Linked DNA regions of Homo sapiens: region 2 is linked to region 1. Evidence: promoter capture Hi-C in human tissues and cell types (Jung and others, 2019). All regions are on one chromosome and are shown on one strand. Each heading gives the region's core, a stretch centred on a gene start or on the middle of the fragment in contact. The rest is flanking DNA. Distances are from core to core; before and after follow the strand shown. Region 1 holds the start of RBKS (ribokinase). Region 2 has its middle 20 kb from the start of PLB1.

Region 1 (4,554 bases), core at 839-3,338:
TGTATTTTTAGTAGAGATGGGGTTTCACCATGTTCGCTGGGCTGGTCTGAAACTCCTCACTCAGGTGATCTGCCCACCTTGGCCTCCCAAAGTGCTGGGATTACAGGTATGAGCCACTGCGCCCGGTCCACTTTAGTTTTCTTACTCTTCTGCCACTTCACACATAAAATCATGGTAAACATTTAGCTTGGTGGATTTCCCATGGAATGAATCATTTTAGATGAAGGTTTATTCCTTTATGTAACTCAACTTTATGAATTTTTGATGAAACTTTTTCTAAAGTGAAATACATGCTCTATTTTTATACAAAATTTAGTAAGTACCATATAACCTTTTCTTGAAAAGAGTCATCACCAGTAAAATCAATTGCTATATTGTGTTGTAAACACAGTAATGTTCTTTCTACACAGATGTCTGCAAACTATGGCCTGCAGGATGTTCTTGTAAGGCTTGGGAGGTAAGAATGGTTTTTACATTTAAAAAATGTTGTTAAAAAAAAATGTGACCTTGACCACATACGGCTTGCAAAGCCTAAAATATTTACTATCTGGCCCTTTACAGAAAAGTTTACTTACTCTTGCTCTAGAAAAAGATGTACAGGCCTCTTCAACAAATGTCTCCAACTAGATTCAATTTTATGCTCTGTCACCAAAGGAAAGTATTTTTATCTTGGCACAGTGTCTGACAGAATAGTTCTAATATTTGTGGAAAAATAAAGGTCATTGGTATTTAAAATTCTTTTGTTGCTTCTTCTCGTTACACAGTCTCCTACTCATCCTCAAGTTTTCGTCAGTCACTATAACTGCCTCTAGCAGTCTCTTCTCTAACTCCCACCTTTCTAATCTCAGTGGAAATTTGGTAACACAGCTTATAAATATTTTAAGGTAAGGTTAAATTGGTTACATGAAGACCCTAGACCTATTTTCTGAGTAGAATACAGGTGGTTTGGTGCAGCAATTTGGTGACTTATTTTGATTGTCCCAAAGCCTTTTTGTTTAGTTCCACGTTCTCTATTACCCTTTGGAAAAGCAACATTTCAGGACGAATGAGGTGTTACTGTAGCATACCTGATCATTTTTATAACACAAAGTAGCATTACAACTGAAAAGATATTCATCAAAAGACTGAACTGCAGTAATTGGAGTGGTAGGATTTTCTTGGAATATCTGAATTTATTACTAATTTTACAGTGAACATACATTACTTTTGTAATCAGAAAAGCTACCTTAATTTAAAAAAAAGAAAAATCAGAAGGATCTGTCTACTCAATCTTACTGACCTAACTCAACAATTTTCATTTGGCATATTTTCTATCATAATTTGATCATCGTTTTCAGAGGTTGTAAATACTGTGTTTATGTTTTTATTTTGATTCATACTTGGCTTGCTGAAAAATACGCTGTAAATATAAAATACTGCAGTAATGCCGACAATCAACATGGTGAAAGGTGACAGTCTTTTTGATTTCTGCTCAACTCATTATTTTATACAATAAGCTCAGACGAATAATACCCAATTTGGATAATGTTACGCTTGACAAAACACTTTACTTCATTTAGTCCTCACAACAACCCTGTGAGGTAGGCACATTCTCGGAGGTAAAATGACGTGGGCAAAGTTCCCTGGCTCGTTTGGGGAAAGGCTCAGCAGCCGGGCCAAGAAAGGTCTTTGGGGGCGCAAGTCTTTGGAGGGCAGGTCTTTGGGGAGCGCTTTGAGTAATATTAGAGCTTTCACTAAACCCTGGCCTATTACGTCCCCTCCCCTGAGATTTACCTTTATATACTCAAGTTCTTTCATGCCAGGAAGGTAGGCTGAAGGCTTCGAAAACCTGCAGCTCATACCCAAAGCTAGCACTGTCTATCCCTGGAGACCCAGCGCCCAAAAGCTCCACTGGGCGCATAGCGCACGGCACGCCTCCTCCCCCGAGCCGCAGACTGAGTAACTGGCCCCGGACTAACCTGACCAGGTCGGTCATGCAGGAGCCCACCACTACCACCGCCGCCACCTCCTCTTGCCACTGCCTCTGGGGTTCCCCAGACGCCGCCATCGCTCAAAGGTGCTGCTGTCCAACCTGGACGGTGACCTCTGCCCTTTGCCCGACCCCGTAACCAGAGACGCCACTCCTGCCCTCCCTAACGACGCGGGCCTTTCAGACGCCTACGCGGGTCGCCCACCTGACTGCCCGAAATCACCCCGCCCACCAAGTGTCCCCTCTTCTTCCTGGAATAGTCTCGGTGCACAGCCTCACGTAACAGGGCCCTCCTGATATGGCGAGACTCCGCGCTCCTCGTCACTCACGGGGCAGGCGCTGAGGAAGGAACTGTCAGGCACCGCGGGGACGCCTTTCCGAGCGCCCGGCTCGGCGCGGCGCGGGGGCGCGCACGCCGCCCAGCTTCGGGGCCGCAGAGGGGGCGGGGCGGGACGTCCGGGGAGTGCGCACGCATCCTGCCCGCGGCGCGCGCGCAGGTCGGTGCGTCTGTCGGGGGCGCGCTCGGGTACCTGTACCCCACGTAGTCGCCGGTTACCGATCGGACTAAGTTCCAGGTACCTGGACTGGGGCTGGTGCGGGGAGGTTGGATCCCGAGTCGCACAGGTGGCGTGGAGAACTGTGGTTTAAATATGGCCAGGGGACTCGCCTCCTCTTCCTATGGAGAAGGCCCCCGTTCCAAAGATGCCCTTCTCATCCCCATCACGCTGATTCCCTCAAGAACGAGCCCCCAAGGCCAGAGGCGTCTCTTTCTCCATATCTGGCCCATCCCCTGGTTCCTGTAAACCCCGAGTATTAGTTCCTTGTTGCCTGATGAGGGGAATCATACAGTTTGGAAGAGGGGAGAGTGTCCCTTTTTAAGACGTCCCCTAGAGTGGGGTGGTCATTCTTCGGGTCTGAGCTAACTTGTTTTTCTCGAATGTTGCCCCTTGGGGGAAATTGCTTCCCCAGTGTAACTTCCCTCGTGCGCTGTATGACGTCGACGTGACGCAGCAGGATGCCACCCCTTTCCGTTCCATGACGTCAGCAGGGCACATGTTTCCGTGTTTGTCATCTCATTTTAATTGCAAGAACCTGGATGGTGCTTTAGACGTCTTTGTAATCCCCAGGCCTCTCATCAAAGGACCTTTTGTAACTTTATTTTGGGGTAGCAGACCCTTGCAAAAATTGTAATTTTGCATTTTCCTTTTGCAATACGTCAAAATCAGGAAATACAAATTGCAGTAGTAGTATTCAGGGGACTCTGACCACCGTAAATATTTGTATATCTGGGGTGTATTATAGTGCTGCCATGCGTAAGAGTTACTACCGGTGGTGACTCCCTGTCCATGTACCCGGTTCACTGCACCAAAGGACCAGTGTTTTTGGCTAAGTGACTTCTGATTTTGGAGTCATTGTGTTCCACTCCCCACCCCCCGCCCTTTTTTTTTAGAGAAGTCACACCTCCTCATGGTTGAAATAGATTTTAATACTGCGTGAAACCTTGCACTGTTAAAACATAGTATTATGGCTGCCCTGGAAATAGAATTCATTCCCTCAGGTGTCATCCTAAAGTCACGACCGTTGCTGAATTAGAATGTATTGTTGTCACTTAGTATGGTTTGGCTTCTAGAGCAAGGCTGTTCCCTTTAACATTTGACTAGTGAATCACTCAGACCAGGTTCAGCAGTAGGTCAGCAATAGTCCAGTTTGTTTTTAGTGGTAAAGCAATCATTTGTTTAAATTTTTACTTTTTGTCTGTTCACATTTTATAAGATATACGCTTTACAAAATCACCTTGATGCTTTTCTCTTTGGTGATAGAAGTTATCAATGTTTATTTGAGAGAAAGATGGGTATAGTGGACTTGGAGAATCCGGATTTGGATTCTGATCCTCCAGCTTCCAACATTCAACAAGTTATTTTATTTTGCTGAGCTTTAATTTTCTATTTGTCAAGTTTCTTTAGCTTCCACTTGTCAAATGGGAACAATTATTGTTCTCAGGGAACAGAGTTGGGGAAATGTAAATGAAATTACAGATAGAGATGAGTAATATAATGCCTGATAATGGGTAGATAGGTGTCTAGAATGTGTTGGTTCTGTTTCCTTCTTTTGTAGAAGCAAGAGATAAAGTAATAATGGGTACTGTGGGGAAAAACACAGAAGAACAATTCGGTAATATAGGTGAGACCCTTTTGCTTTTTTATAAGATAGGTATATTTGTACTTAGCATATGACTTTGATAAGCATCCCTTCAAGAATTGTGACATAGACATGAAGGTGGAAATGTTGGCGAATAGAAAAAAATAGGCTTCAAAATTATGATGTGGATTAGTATACTGTTCAGAATCAAATTATAATAATTACCCATATTATCTGCAAACTGGGAATTAAAATTCCTTACTACCTCAGGCTTGTGAAGATCAACTGCAGTAATATATATGGACGCTCCTTGTAAGTGATAAAATGTTTAAAAAAGTACATGATTTTTATGATTGGTAGTACAGTGTTAGATGTTTAGTCTTACTTTGAAATGAGAGACTAGTCGGGGGGCGGTCATCTGTTAAGCGGTCAGAAGAAGAGCTTGT
Region 2 (4,554 bases), core at 1,077-3,576, 590 kb after region 1:
TGGTGGCTGGGCACATTGGCTCATGCCTATAATCCCAGCACTTTGGGAGGCCAAGGTGGGAGGGTCACATGAGACCAGGAGTTCAAGACCAGCTTGAGCAAAACATAGCAAGAGCCCATCTCTAAAAAAAAAAAATTTTTTTTAATTAGCCAGGCATGATGGTGTGTGCCTGTAGTACCAGTTACGCTGGAGGCTGAGGCGGGAGAATCACTTGAGCCCAGGCTCAAGGCTGCAGTGCGTTGATGGTGCCACTGCACTCCAGCCTGGATGACAGAGTGAGACTCTGTCTCTTAAAAAAAAAAATTCCAGATTGGAAATAGGTGCCCAGGGACACTGAGCTGAGGCTCTAGGGATCCCACTAAGGTCAGCAATTTTTATTTTATTTTTATTTATTGAGAAAACCCAATTTTCCAGGCCTCATATCCTTGACTTTTCAGCAGTATTCTCTATTTTAAAAACATACTTCTCTCCCTGACACAAACCTTTTACTTCTCCAATCAGTTTTTCCTCTGTCTGCACTGTAGGATTTTTTCTTATCTGCCCAGCTATTAAATATCATTAAGAGTTCCCCAGGCCCTTCCCTTCCCCCTTGTTCTCTCTCCTAGCAGGCTCTGCTGCCACAGCTTGAGTGACTGCATCTGACTCTTAGCCACTCTGGCCCAGAGTTCTCATCTGAGTTTCTGATCCATGGGTCTACCTGCCCCTCCGGCATCTCTTGAGTGTGTGTCCTAAAGGCACTGCATGCTGCTTGTGTCCACATCTGCATTGATGATTTCCCTCTGCATTCTTCCAAAATTCCCATGCCCAGTGATCCCTATGCAGGGAATGAAGTGCATCCATTCCAGTGCAAAGGTCAGAGATCTTTCGTTACCTACACACATCATCCATCAGTTTCACTTCCTGAACATCTCCTTACCCACTGTGTCTGGAATTGGTTCCTGCTGGTGGGTTCGTGGTCTGGCCGACTTCAAGAATGAAGCCGGGGACCTTCGCAGTGAGTGTTACAGCTCTTAAAGATGGCACAGACCCAAAGAGTGAGCGGTAGCAAGGTTTATTGTGAAGAGTGAAAGAACAAAGCTTCCACAGCATGGAAGGGGACCCAAGTGGGTTGCTGCTGCTGGCTGGGGTGGCCAGCTTTTATTCCCTTATTGTCCCCTCCTATGTTCCATTTCTGTCCTATCAGAGTGCCTTTTTTCAATCCTCCCCGTGATTGGCTACTTTTAGAATCCTTTCCCTTATTGGCCCCAAACTGGTGCTTTAGCTGCAAAGTGCTGATTGGTGTGTTTTACAGAGCGCTGATTGGTGCATTTTATGGAGTGCTGATTGGTGCATTTTACAATCCTCTTGTGAGACAGGGAAGTTCCCTAAGTCCCCACTCAACCCCGGAAGTCCAGCTGGCCTCACCTCCCACCACCTTCCTCCTTCTCCACCACCATGAGCCTCCTTCAGCTCTGGCTTGGAGAGTGACAGCCTCCTGACTGGGCTCCTGGCTCTGTCCTTATCTCCCAGCCTTCCCTTCTCCATGCAGCTATCTGTCAGCTTTTGAAAACATGAAGCAGGTCCTGTCACTTTCCCACTTACAACCCTTTACCAGCCTCTTCTTCCTCTTAGAATAAAGGCCCAGATGTTACCAAGGCCTAGGGGGCTCCTGCTGACCTCTCCTGCCTCAAGCTCCCTTCATTCTGCATTACAGCCACCTGGTCTTTCCTGGAATTCCCCAAGATCCTACTAATCACAGAGCTGTGCAAAGAGCCTAGGAGAGGCACCTGCTGGTATGTTTCCATATTATCATTTTATATTCATTTGTGAAATTCTTTGATGAATGCCTCTCTACAGTGCTTAGAATATAGAAACTTTCCTTTGCCCCATTTTAAGATTTGAGAATGCATGTGTCATGAAAGCTTCTCATCAGAGGCCCAGATCCTTCAGGTACCAGACCCCATGTATCCAGGCGGATCCCACCTGGGAGCCCAGGCAGCCCAGGGCTTCTGAAATAACAACACCTGGCCTGGCATGGTGACTCACGCCTGTAATCCCAGCACTTTGGGAGGCTGAGGCGGGTGGATCACCTGAGGTCAGGAGTTCGAGACCAGCCTGGCCAACATGGTGAAACCCTGTCTCTACTAAAAATACAAAAAAAAAAGTAGCCGGGCGTGGTGGCAGGCGCCTGTAATCCCAGCTACTTGGGAAACTGAGGCAGGAGAATTGCTCCAACCCAGGAGGTGGAGGTTGCAGTGAGCCGAGATCATGCCATTGCACTCCAGCCTGGGAGACAAGAGCGAGACTTTATCTCAAAAAATAAATAAATAAATAAATAAATAAATAAACAAAAACAAAAAAAAAACAAAACAAACAGAAATAGCAACACCTGATAGCATGTCCCTTCAGAGACCCTGCCCCAGCCATGAGGTCAGTGGCCATACCTGGCGTATGGAATACAAGTTCCATGAGGTCAGTGGCCACGCCTGGCATATAGAATATAAGTTCTTTGAGGTCAGTGGGCACACCTGGCATATGGAAGTGGCACAGTAAACATGTGTTGACCTCAGGCTCCTCTCAGGGAGGATGCCTCTGGGTTCAGGTCACTGAGTTTTGCAGGGGAGGTGCATATTGTCCTTGAGTGCCGGGTAAGGTTTGGGCACCTGGAGCACCAGGGGTCAGTGAGAGGGAGGCGAGAGGGCCTGGAACACAAGGCTCCAGGGAGGTGATGGCCACAGGGGAAGGGAAGAAATGCTGATTGAGGACTGGGCCTTGAATTGGGGAAAGAATTGTTTTATTTGCCACCCATATGAGAAAGGAGGAGGGGAGAGGCCTGCAGGAAAGGAGAGTCCACCTTGAGGATTTATTGCAAGGTGAGTGGCCCTATGTTCTCTGTAAATCACTACTACACACTTGGGACTGAGGCACATCGTTTTTAAGACATCTGCTGACTTGGACAATTATAGGGAGCCTTGAGGTCTTTTAGCAGGTGGGGTCTAACTGGCAGAAGCAACTGAGAGGCTCAAGGAGAGGAGAAGGCTTCTCCTCTGCGCTGTGCCCAGCATGGCTGGGACAGGGTCCCTGAGCCCCCAGCGGACATGCTATCAGGTGTTGCTATTTCAGAAGCCCTTGGGCTGCCTGGGTTCCTAAGTGGGATCCACCTGGATACATGGGGTCTGGTACCTGGAGGATCCAGGCCTCTGATGAGAAGCTTTCATGACACATGCATTCTCAAATCTTAAAATGGGGCAAGGGAAAGTTTCAGATCAGACAAGCTGGGCTGCAGCATGAAACCAAAAGAGATAGAGAGAGGCCCCAGGCTTAATGCCTGGTGGAGGCTCAGTCATGTCTGTTGAAACCTAGGATATTCATCTATGTAGGCAGATAGGAAACACAGGTGACCACCTTCCCAAACAAGCTGGGCACATGACAGAAGCAGAAAGCACCTTATCCTCTCCAGCAAACCATTCTTCGGACCCATTCTGCCCCGCAGAAAAACCCCAGGCAGCTCCCATCCTTTTCTGACCACTCTCATGTAATAAAATATCTAGCCCCATGTGATGTCAAACCTCAAGCTCTGTTCCATTGAAAATGTCTCTGCCAAGCCCATTCAGGCTGGGGAAGCTGCAAGGGCAGAGAACTGTCTCCTTCTCTTACTTCTCTGTTCACCTTTTCTCCCCAGGCTGCTCCAGGGGTGGAGGAGACAGGAAGAAAGCAGAGGGAGGCCAGGAAGGGCTAGCTTGACCTTTTGCAGCTGTATCTGGCATTAGTGCCCTTGGACATGGCAGATTGCAGAGTTAGTTCTGCCCTAGGAGTCTGTGGTTGCTCTGAAGCCTCTCGAATTGCTGAGGCTTCAGTCAACAGACGTGGCTGCCTCCTTGGCCTGGCCACATAAGATCTCTCAGGCTCCCATCAGCCCTCACCTCACCCCTTCTGAGTCTGCTTCTGCAGGTTCTGTATCTGGCCCCCACGCCCATCCCTGCTCCCCTAAACCCTGGAGGCACAGGCTCTTCTAAGACAGCCCCTCTTTACCCAGCCACTCCCTCTCACACAGGGGCTTTTTCAAGGGTGGGTCGGTCAATCCGTTCCTGTGTTCCTCAAATTTCAGGGGATGCCTGACACATTCTTTGATATCCCCTACAGCCCATTGATCACTTCCCTTCAGAGAAATCCTCACCATGTGCCCCATGCCCCTTCAGTCTCCCAAAGAGTTGGAGGTGGGTGATAGACTGAGGATGGCATGATTGATTTCACAGACCCTTACTCAAGTAGCACAGTGGTCCTGCATCCCAACTTAGGAAACAGTGTGTTTGGCACCTTCTGAATTGCTCTAGGACTTTAGGGGCTCTGCCCAGACAACAGGAAGAGTTACTTTTATCCTTCTATTTCATGAACATCATAAAAGGCAAGGAGGTGTAAAAAAGTGAGGGCAGGAGAGTTAGGCAAGTCCAGGAGAGAGTTCAGAGCAGGACAGGAGTCAATAGAAGTTGTTGAGAAGGAAGAGGGGCCAATGGGAGCCGTAGAGAGGACACTAAGCTGATATTTACATGGCACTTTGGCCCTGCGAAGGGTCTT

What was found. The method cuts DNA at HindIII sites, captures the fragments that hold promoters and counts their contacts. A contact is called where the count stands out against the background at its distance.
Region 2: a fragment that was not itself captured here is called in contact with the fragment with the promoter of RBKS in region 1 in 1 of the 25 tissues and cell types used here (spleen).

The regions. Positions count from the first base shown.
Region 1 is chr2:27,888,299-27,892,852 of GRCh38, forward strand. RBKS (ribokinase) reads right to left here and starts at 2,089. Exons shown (of 8, transcript NM_022128.3): 1 at 1,959-2,089. The coding sequence starts at 2,047. BABAM2 (BRISC and BRCA1 A complex member 2) reads left to right here and starts at 2,431. Exons shown (of 12, transcript NM_199191.3): 1 at 2,431-2,544. It overlaps BABAM2-AS1 (BABAM2 antisense RNA 1), which reads right to left and starts at 2,816. Exons shown (of 1, transcript NR_028308.1): 1 at 1,158-2,816. RefSeq lists a silencer at 2,277-2,556. The HindIII fragment of the contact is 18,364 bases long and covers 1-4,554 here.
Region 2 is chr2:28,474,008-28,478,561 of GRCh38, forward strand. No RefSeq gene overlaps it. Among named protein-coding and RNA genes, the nearest start is that of PLB1, 20 kb to the right of the region's middle. RefSeq lists an enhancer at 3,206-3,255. The HindIII fragment of the contact is 3,963 bases long and covers 346-4,308 here.